Linked DNA regions of Homo sapiens: region 2 is linked to region 1. Evidence: promoter capture Hi-C in 16 types of primary human blood cells and fetal thymus (Javierre and others, 2016). All regions are on one chromosome and are shown on one strand. Each heading gives the region's core, a stretch centred on a gene start or on the middle of the fragment in contact. The rest is flanking DNA. Distances are from core to core; before and after follow the strand shown. Region 1 holds the start of NDC1 (NDC1 transmembrane nucleoporin). Region 2 has its middle 25 kb from the start of LRRC42.

Evidence for each region. Contacts are between HindIII fragments. The CHiCAGO score rates a contact against its expected background, and 5 or more counts as called.
Region 2: a fragment that was not itself captured here is called in contact with the fragment with the promoter of NDC1 in region 1 in 3 of 17 cell types (megakaryocytes, naive CD4 T cells and activated CD4 T cells); the score reaches 5.7 in megakaryocytes.

The regions. Positions count from the first base shown.
Region 1 is chr1:53,836,153-53,839,888 of GRCh38, forward strand. NDC1 (NDC1 transmembrane nucleoporin) reads right to left here and starts at 2,144. Exons shown (of 18, transcript NM_018087.5): 1 at 2,053-2,144. The coding sequence starts at 2,109. RefSeq lists a silencer at 1,898-2,027 and an enhancer at 2,138-2,617. The HindIII fragment of the contact is 19,531 bases long and covers 1-3,736 here.
Region 2 is chr1:53,969,842-53,973,577 of GRCh38, forward strand. No RefSeq gene overlaps it. Among named protein-coding and RNA genes, the nearest start is that of LRRC42, 25 kb to the left of the region's middle. The HindIII fragment of the contact is 1,068 bases long and covers 1,306-2,373 here.

The DNA of each region.
Region 1 (3,736 bases), core at 894-3,393:
CTCAAGGTAAAACATGTCTGTTTACTGAAAGCTGGCTTTAAGGAAGATGGAGGAGTTGGGACACGAACCAAACCAGAGACAATGCAGTTAGGAGGCAGTCCACCAAAAAGCTGAGGCCGGGCGTGGTGGCTCACATCTGTATCCCAGCACTTTGGGAGGCCAGGGTGGGCGGATCACTTGAGGCCAGGAGTTTGAGACCAGCCTGGCCAACATGGTAAAACCCTGTCTCTATAAAAAATTTTTTAAAAATTAGCCAGGCATCATTCCAGCCCGGGCAACAGAGCAAGACTCTGTCTAACAAAAAAAAAAAAAAAAAAGAATAAAGTTGAACTCCTATCCCACATTCTTTTTGATGTTGTGATTTTGAGACAGCTCGCTCTGTCCCCCAGGCTAGATGCAACAGTGCCATCTCAGCTCACTGCAACCTCCTCCTCCCGGGTTCAAGTGATTCTCCTGCCTCAGCCACCTGAGTAGCTGGGGTTACAGGTGCCCGCCACCACACCTGACTAATTTTTTTTTCAGTAGAGATGGGGTCTCGAACTCCTGACCCCAAGTGATCCTCCCACCTCAGCCTCCCAAAGTGTTAAGATTACAGGCGTGAGCCACAGCGCCCAGCCTCCTATCCCACATTCTATACAAAAATTAACTCAAAATGGATTAAAGACCTACATGTAAGAGCTAAAACTATAAAACTCTTGGAAGAAAACATAGGAGTAAACCTTCATGATCTTGGATTTGGCAATGGTTTCTTAGATATGACACCAAAAGCATAAGCAACAAAAGAAAAATATAGATAAATTGGACATCAGCAATATTTAAAACTTTTTTGCTTCAGAAGACACTGTCAGCCAAGTGCGGTGGCTCACAAGTGCCAAAGGTGGCAACAACCCAAATACCCACATACTGATGAATGGATAAACAAAATATGTGGTATGTCCATACAGTGGATTATTCAGCCACAAAAAGGAATGAAGTACTCATGCATGCTAAACATACACCAGGCACGATGGCATGCACCTGATGTCCCAAATAGTTAGGCGGCTGAGGCAGGAGGACTAGTTGAGCCCAGGAGCTCAAGACCAGGCTGGAGAAGATATCGTATCTCTATTATAAAAATAATTTTTAAAAAAATTTTAGAGGCCAGGCACGGTGGCTCACGCCTGTAATCTCAGCACTTTGGGAGACCGAGGCGGATGACTCACTTGAGGTCAGGAGTTCAAGACCGGCCTGACCAACATGGTGAAACCCCATCTCTACTAAAAATACAAAAATTAGCTGGGCGTAGTGGTGCGTATCTATAATCCCCGCTCCTCGGGAAGCTGAGGCAGAACTCCTTGAACCCTGGAGGCGGGGGTTGCAGTGAGCCGACAACGCGCCATTGCACTGCAGCCTGGGCAACAGGGAGCGAGCCTCCGGCTCAAAAAAAAAAAAAGATAAGACTTACGGACCCAAAAGTTTTTAGTTTGGAATACAGGGGAGATGGCAGTGCACTGGGATAGAAGCACTTTTCCAAAAGGGATCTTTCTCCTCTTTCTCTTTGCACTCCAGAGAAGCGATGTAGTACTGTTAATTCCGTAACTTTAAGGAGGAAGTACTATTCCACTCAGCTCAGTCCCATTCTACCTTACAAAGAACACCTGCCCTGCTTACTGGACCCTAACCCCAGCCTCTACTAATGCCACATTTCTTTCCAATTCCGTGCATTCCTTCCCACTTCTTAACGAAACAAATTAAGTTATTTATTTTGCACCTACTGGATACGGTACCCTTGCGTAAAACTCCGCCTCACTCCCTATTCCAATTTCCATTCAGTCCATCCGTCCCACTCTGACCAGCTTCCTTCCACTCAGGACCCCTCTCCTACCCCGTAACCAACTTCCACTCAGGACTTCCCACAACCCTGCAATCAGTCCCCCAAGTGGTGCCTTCCCCACGCGTTCTCTCCACGCTGCCCCGGGACCGGCCCTCCCCCGCCCAGCGCGCACGCGCGATCAGAGCTTGCCCGCCCGGCCCGACCCTGGCAGTGCGTGCCACAGTGCACGCCGCACTCACGCGCCACAGTATGTCCCGCGACCTGCCGGCGCAGGGCCGGCTCACGGCCGTGGCCATGGAGATGGCGGCCCCTAGTCTAGGGCGTACAGGAGACCGTGCGCCCGCCCGCCACCGCAGTTCAAAGGCAGGAAGGCCCCAGGAGGACCCTGCTGGGTCTGCCTCAAACGCTGCCTGAGCGAAGCCCGGCCCAGGCTCCAACCCATCCCTGCGAGGCTTCGTCTGGACAAGCTCAACAGGCCAGGACTGCCGCGCAGACACGTCCCGCAAACGCGGCTGTAACTCCAGGAACCGCCCTCTGGCGACCAAACGGTCCCTTCGAAGCAGGGTCCAGCGGGGCGCCAGAAGCAGGTGGCGGCGCTGCATGCTGGGAACTGTAGTCTCGACGGCCCCCTGAGAGGAAGTAGGAGGAATGTTGCATTCTGGGACTCGGAGTTCCAAAGTACAGAATGCTGGGAGTCAAGGTCTTCCTGGAGGTGCCTTGAGGCATGCTGGGAATAGTAGTCTTTTATAAAGCCGATAACAGCCACAGTATTGATTGACTGGAATTCTTCAGTTAGAGCTAGCAAAATGATCTGCCCTCATTTCTCCCTATTACTTTATAAGTCACCTAAAAGTGAAACCAAAGGATGTGGTGGTCTTCTCCACAATAGGTACGCAGTAATTTTACTGAAATAAAAAAAAAATTCTCTAGAGATGCCTTTGGTTTCATAAAATCTGGTTTCTACTTCCAGATCTGCCACTTGCTAAATTGAATATTTTTATCTTCTCTGAGCCTCCATTTCTTCAACAGTAAGATAAGGATGAAAATAAAAATATCCTGGTGATGTTGTGAGGATGTAAATAATATGCTATACAAATGTTATCATTAATATACTGCCAGTAAGAAAAAAGGTGTTTCACCAACCCAAGTTTCACCTAATGAAGTCTTCTCAGTGCTTTAGACCTCAGTGAGATCTCTGGATGCATATCGCTAACGCCTTTTTATGCTCAATCACATGCCACAGTCAACATGCAATACTCAAGACAGAAATAGATTCAGTGATTTACTGACTAAGGAAATGCATAGGCTGGTGAGAGGAATTGAGATCACACCTACTGCTCTGCAACGTTTGCTAACAATGGCTTCCTGAATGCTTTAAGATTATATCCTATTCACTTCCAAAATCATGTTACTATCAATCATGTCTAAAGCACTGTAGGACAAACTGGGAATACAACTGATAGATCAAGTCTCTGCCGTGAAGAGATCTATCCGGTGGTGGAGAAAACTTGTAAAGAATTAGTCCAGGCCAGGCACAGTGGCTCACACCTGTAATCCCAGCACTTTGGGAGGCCAAGGCAGGAGGATCACAAGCCAGGAGTTTGAGACCAGCCTGGGCAACATAGTGAGACCTCATCTCCACAAAAACAACAACAACAACAACAACAAACTTTTTTTTAAATTAGCCGGGTGTAGTGGTGCACACCTGTAGTCCAAGCTACTCCATAGACTGAGGCAGGAGAATTGCTTGAACCTGGGAGGTTCAGGCTGAAGTGAGCAGTGATGGCGCCATCACACTCCAGACTGGGCCATAGAGTGAGACCCTGTCCAAAAAAAAAAAAAATCAGTCCAAATGCGTGTTCATAAAGACACCTCAGGTTCTAAGGTTCTTGTGGTAGAGACTACTCGTTGTCTGCCTCAATA
Region 2 (3,736 bases), core at 590-3,089, 130 kb after region 1:
AATAAGACCTGAAAGTTGAAATTACTCCAGATCCATATGCTGCAGAATAGGTGTTATGGTAGCAGGCATGAAAACAACATTCATCTTGTAAGTTTTTGGGTGATCAGGTATATTGTCTATGAGCAGAAATATTTTGAAAGTGCCTCTAATTTGTGGACTACACATTGAGTAGCAAAGCTCTAGACCTTTACTGTCCAATATGTAGCTCCTAGCTACATGTAGCTATTAAATACTCGAAATGTGGCTAGTCCAAATTGAGATGTGCTATAAAATACACACTGGATATCAGATATCAAAGACTTAGTATCTAAAAGTTTGAATGAAAAATGTCTCAGCCAGGCGTGGTGGCTCGCGCCTGTAATCCCAGCACTTTGGGAGGCCAAGGCGGGCGGATCATGAGGTCAGGAGATCGAGACTATCCTGGCTAATATGGTGAAACCCCGTCTCTACTGAAAATACAAAAAATTAGCCGGGTGTGGTGGCATGCACCTGTAATTCCAGCTACTTGGGAGGCTGAGGCAGGAGAATCGCTTGAACCCGGAGGGCAGAGGTCATAGTGAGCTGAGATTGTGCCACTGCACTCCAGCCTGGTGACACAGCAAGACTCTGTCTCAAAAAAAAAAAAGTCTCCATTTTGAAATACTGGTTACATGTTAAAATGGTAATTTAAAATAATTTCACCTGTTTTTATTTTTCTAATACGGCTACTAGAAAGTTTAAAATCACATTCATGGCTTGCATTTGTGATTGCATTATATTTTTACTGGACAGGACTGCTCTAGACCGTATTCATCTTTAAAAGGTGAGCTAAAAGCAAGAGTTACTGGCAAGTAAAAGGAAGGGAGAAAATACCTCAAGAAATTGACAACATTAGTTTGACATTTGTAAGTGCTCTGGAGTTTAATGAGGATTTTATTTATTATTTATTCATTATTGTTTTTTAACTTTTAGGTTCAAGGGTACTTACGGAGATTTGTCATATAGGTAACTTGCGTCTCATGGGGGACTGGTGTATAGATTACCTCGTCACCCAGGTAATAAGCGTAGTTAGTACCCAATAGGTAGTTTTTCGATCCTCTCCCTCCACCCTCAACAGGCCCCAGTGTCTGTGGTTCCTTTCTTTGTATCCATGTGTACTCAGTGTTTAGCTCCCACTTACAAGTGAGAACATGCAGTATGTGGTTTTCTGTTTAATCAGGATTTTAATAAAGGTAGATCTTAGATAAAATATGTGTTAATTGCTACTCTGAGCTAGGCAAGGTACTACCTCTTTAAAGGTGGGCTGTTACCCAGGATCATATCAAAAGCTTGATTTCTGAAATTTATAAAATGAAAAAGCGAATACAGTGCTGATTGGTTTTCTCTGTAACAAAGTAGAGTTTTAAAATATCATTTGAGGCCGGGCACGGTGCCTCACGCCTGTAATCCCAGCACTTTCGTAGGCGAAGGCGGGCGGATCACTTGAGGTCAGGAGTTCAAGACCAGCCTGGCCAACATGGTGAAACCCCGTCTCTACTAAAAATACAAAAATTAGCCAGGCATGGTGGTGTGTGCCTATAATCCCAGCTGCTCAGGAGGCTGAGGCAGGAGAATTGCTTGAACCCGGGAGGCGGAGGTTGCAGTGAGCCGAAATTGCGCCACTGCATTCCAGCCTGGGCGGCAGAGCGAGACTCCATCTTTAAAAAAAAAAAAAAAATCATTTGAGTGGACAGTAGCACTCTGTCAAATTCCAAATGCCAATCAACAGCTGGCTCTACTTGTCAAAGTTGGCATATTATTGTTAGTCAAACCAGAGTCCAATTTGATCACCCCCTCATGCACACAATCCCACCACCACCACCGGACTCCACTGTTGCCTGTGGGGCAATAATGCCATGTTAACAGGGAGCATCTGGAATTACTCTTCAAACATCCGCCCATTTTGATCACTGTGGAAGGCAAATCTTCCTTCCACATTTACCCCTTCAGAGCAACTTGTGCTCACTTCTCTCATCAACACAGTGTACTTTTAAAGCTAAGATTTCATTTTCTTTAATCCTTTTTTTCAAGAATCACATTTTTCTCTGCTGACGATTCCTTTAAACAAATATTTCTTGTTTTGGTCTGAGGAATTCATTCTTTGAAATGGAGTTATAGAAGTCTAGGCTTTGTTTTGATGACTGAGGTGAAGGCCAAGAATTTATGACCAGCATACAATAGATAGGGTAATTTGTGTGTTTGTGTAACTTACATGTGAGGATAGGCTGTTTTTTAAAATTAGAATTTGTTTCTGCCTTCTTAGAATTTACTTACTGACTCGTTATGAACTTCGCAAAGTGACTCAATTCTGAAAATCCTCATACCTCTTTAAAACTCTGCTGCCTACCTACATAAAGCTTACAAGAATGAATAAATCAGTGCTTCTCAAAAAACATGTTCTGTGAACCCCTGCCCCAGAGTTTTCTGTGGTATTTGTTAAAATGAAGATTCTTAGACCCCACCCATGTTTATTGAATCAGAATCTCATATTTATTATTTATTTATTTGATATGGAGTCTTGCTCTGTTGCCAGGTTGGAGTGCAGTGGTGCAATCTCAGCTCACTAGTTGAACCCGCCTGCTGGGTTCAAGTGATTCTCCTGCCTCTGCCTCCTGAAGAGCTGGGATTACAGGTGCCCGCCACCATGCCCAGCTAATTTTTGTATTTTTAACGGGGTTTCACCATGTTGGGCGGGCTGGTCTCAAACTCCTGACCTCAGGTGATCCTCCCACCTCAGCCTCCCAATGTGCTGGGATTACAGGTGTGAGCCACCGCGCCCGGCCTGAACCAGAATCTTTTAGTTTATGAGAATTACTAAAGAATCTGATATCAGGCCATTTTTTTTTTCCATGTATTCATTTTAAAAACCTGAGCCATTCATCAGTTTATTTGAACAGGTATCTGTTGAACACTTAACATGTACCAGGTGCTAGGGACTCAGCAATAAACAAGACAAAATACAGTATTTTCCTTTAAAGAGCACAGGGTGAGCAGACACAAAGTTAAGTGAACAGAACAGTCAATCAAGAAGCTAAGTTCACATAGCGATAAGTAAAGAAAATGGAACAGGGTAATGGGATATTGGGAGTTATGGAAAGTTAATTTAGATTTTTAATTAACTTAGGGGGTTACAGAAGGCCTCTCTGAGGAAGTGACACTTGAGCTGAGAAGTATGATAAGAAGGAGCTGATAATGCACACATCTGGAGGAGGGTCTCAGGGAAGGAAAGAACAGTGCAAAAGTCAAGGTGGGAAATGTTTGGCACATTCAAGGGACAGAAAGAAAGACAAGTAGAAGGCCTGAGACTGGGCCTCAGTCCTTCCCACACTTAAGATCAGGCAGAGAGCAGTAGATGTCAAGGTTGAAGATTAATACCCAGGAGAGCATTTAATATAAACTTAGAAATGTAAATGTTTCAACAAGAAGTGGGTAGTGAATGACTATTAGATGAGGTGAGTTGGAGTTGGTGGCTTTGATTGGGTTGGGTGGAGAGATGAAAGTTAAAAGCCTGATTGGATGTAGCTTAAAGAGAATGGGAGACAAGGAAGTGGAGACGAGCTGCAGAAAATGTTTAGGAAGTTTTACTAGTTAAGGGAGTAAAAATTCAAAATTCTGGTGGTAACGGGTCTTGGGGTCAAAAGAAGGTTTTCTTGCATAATTTTTATTCAAACATATTCAAAAGTAGAATAGAACAAACCCCCATGTACCCATTACCCAT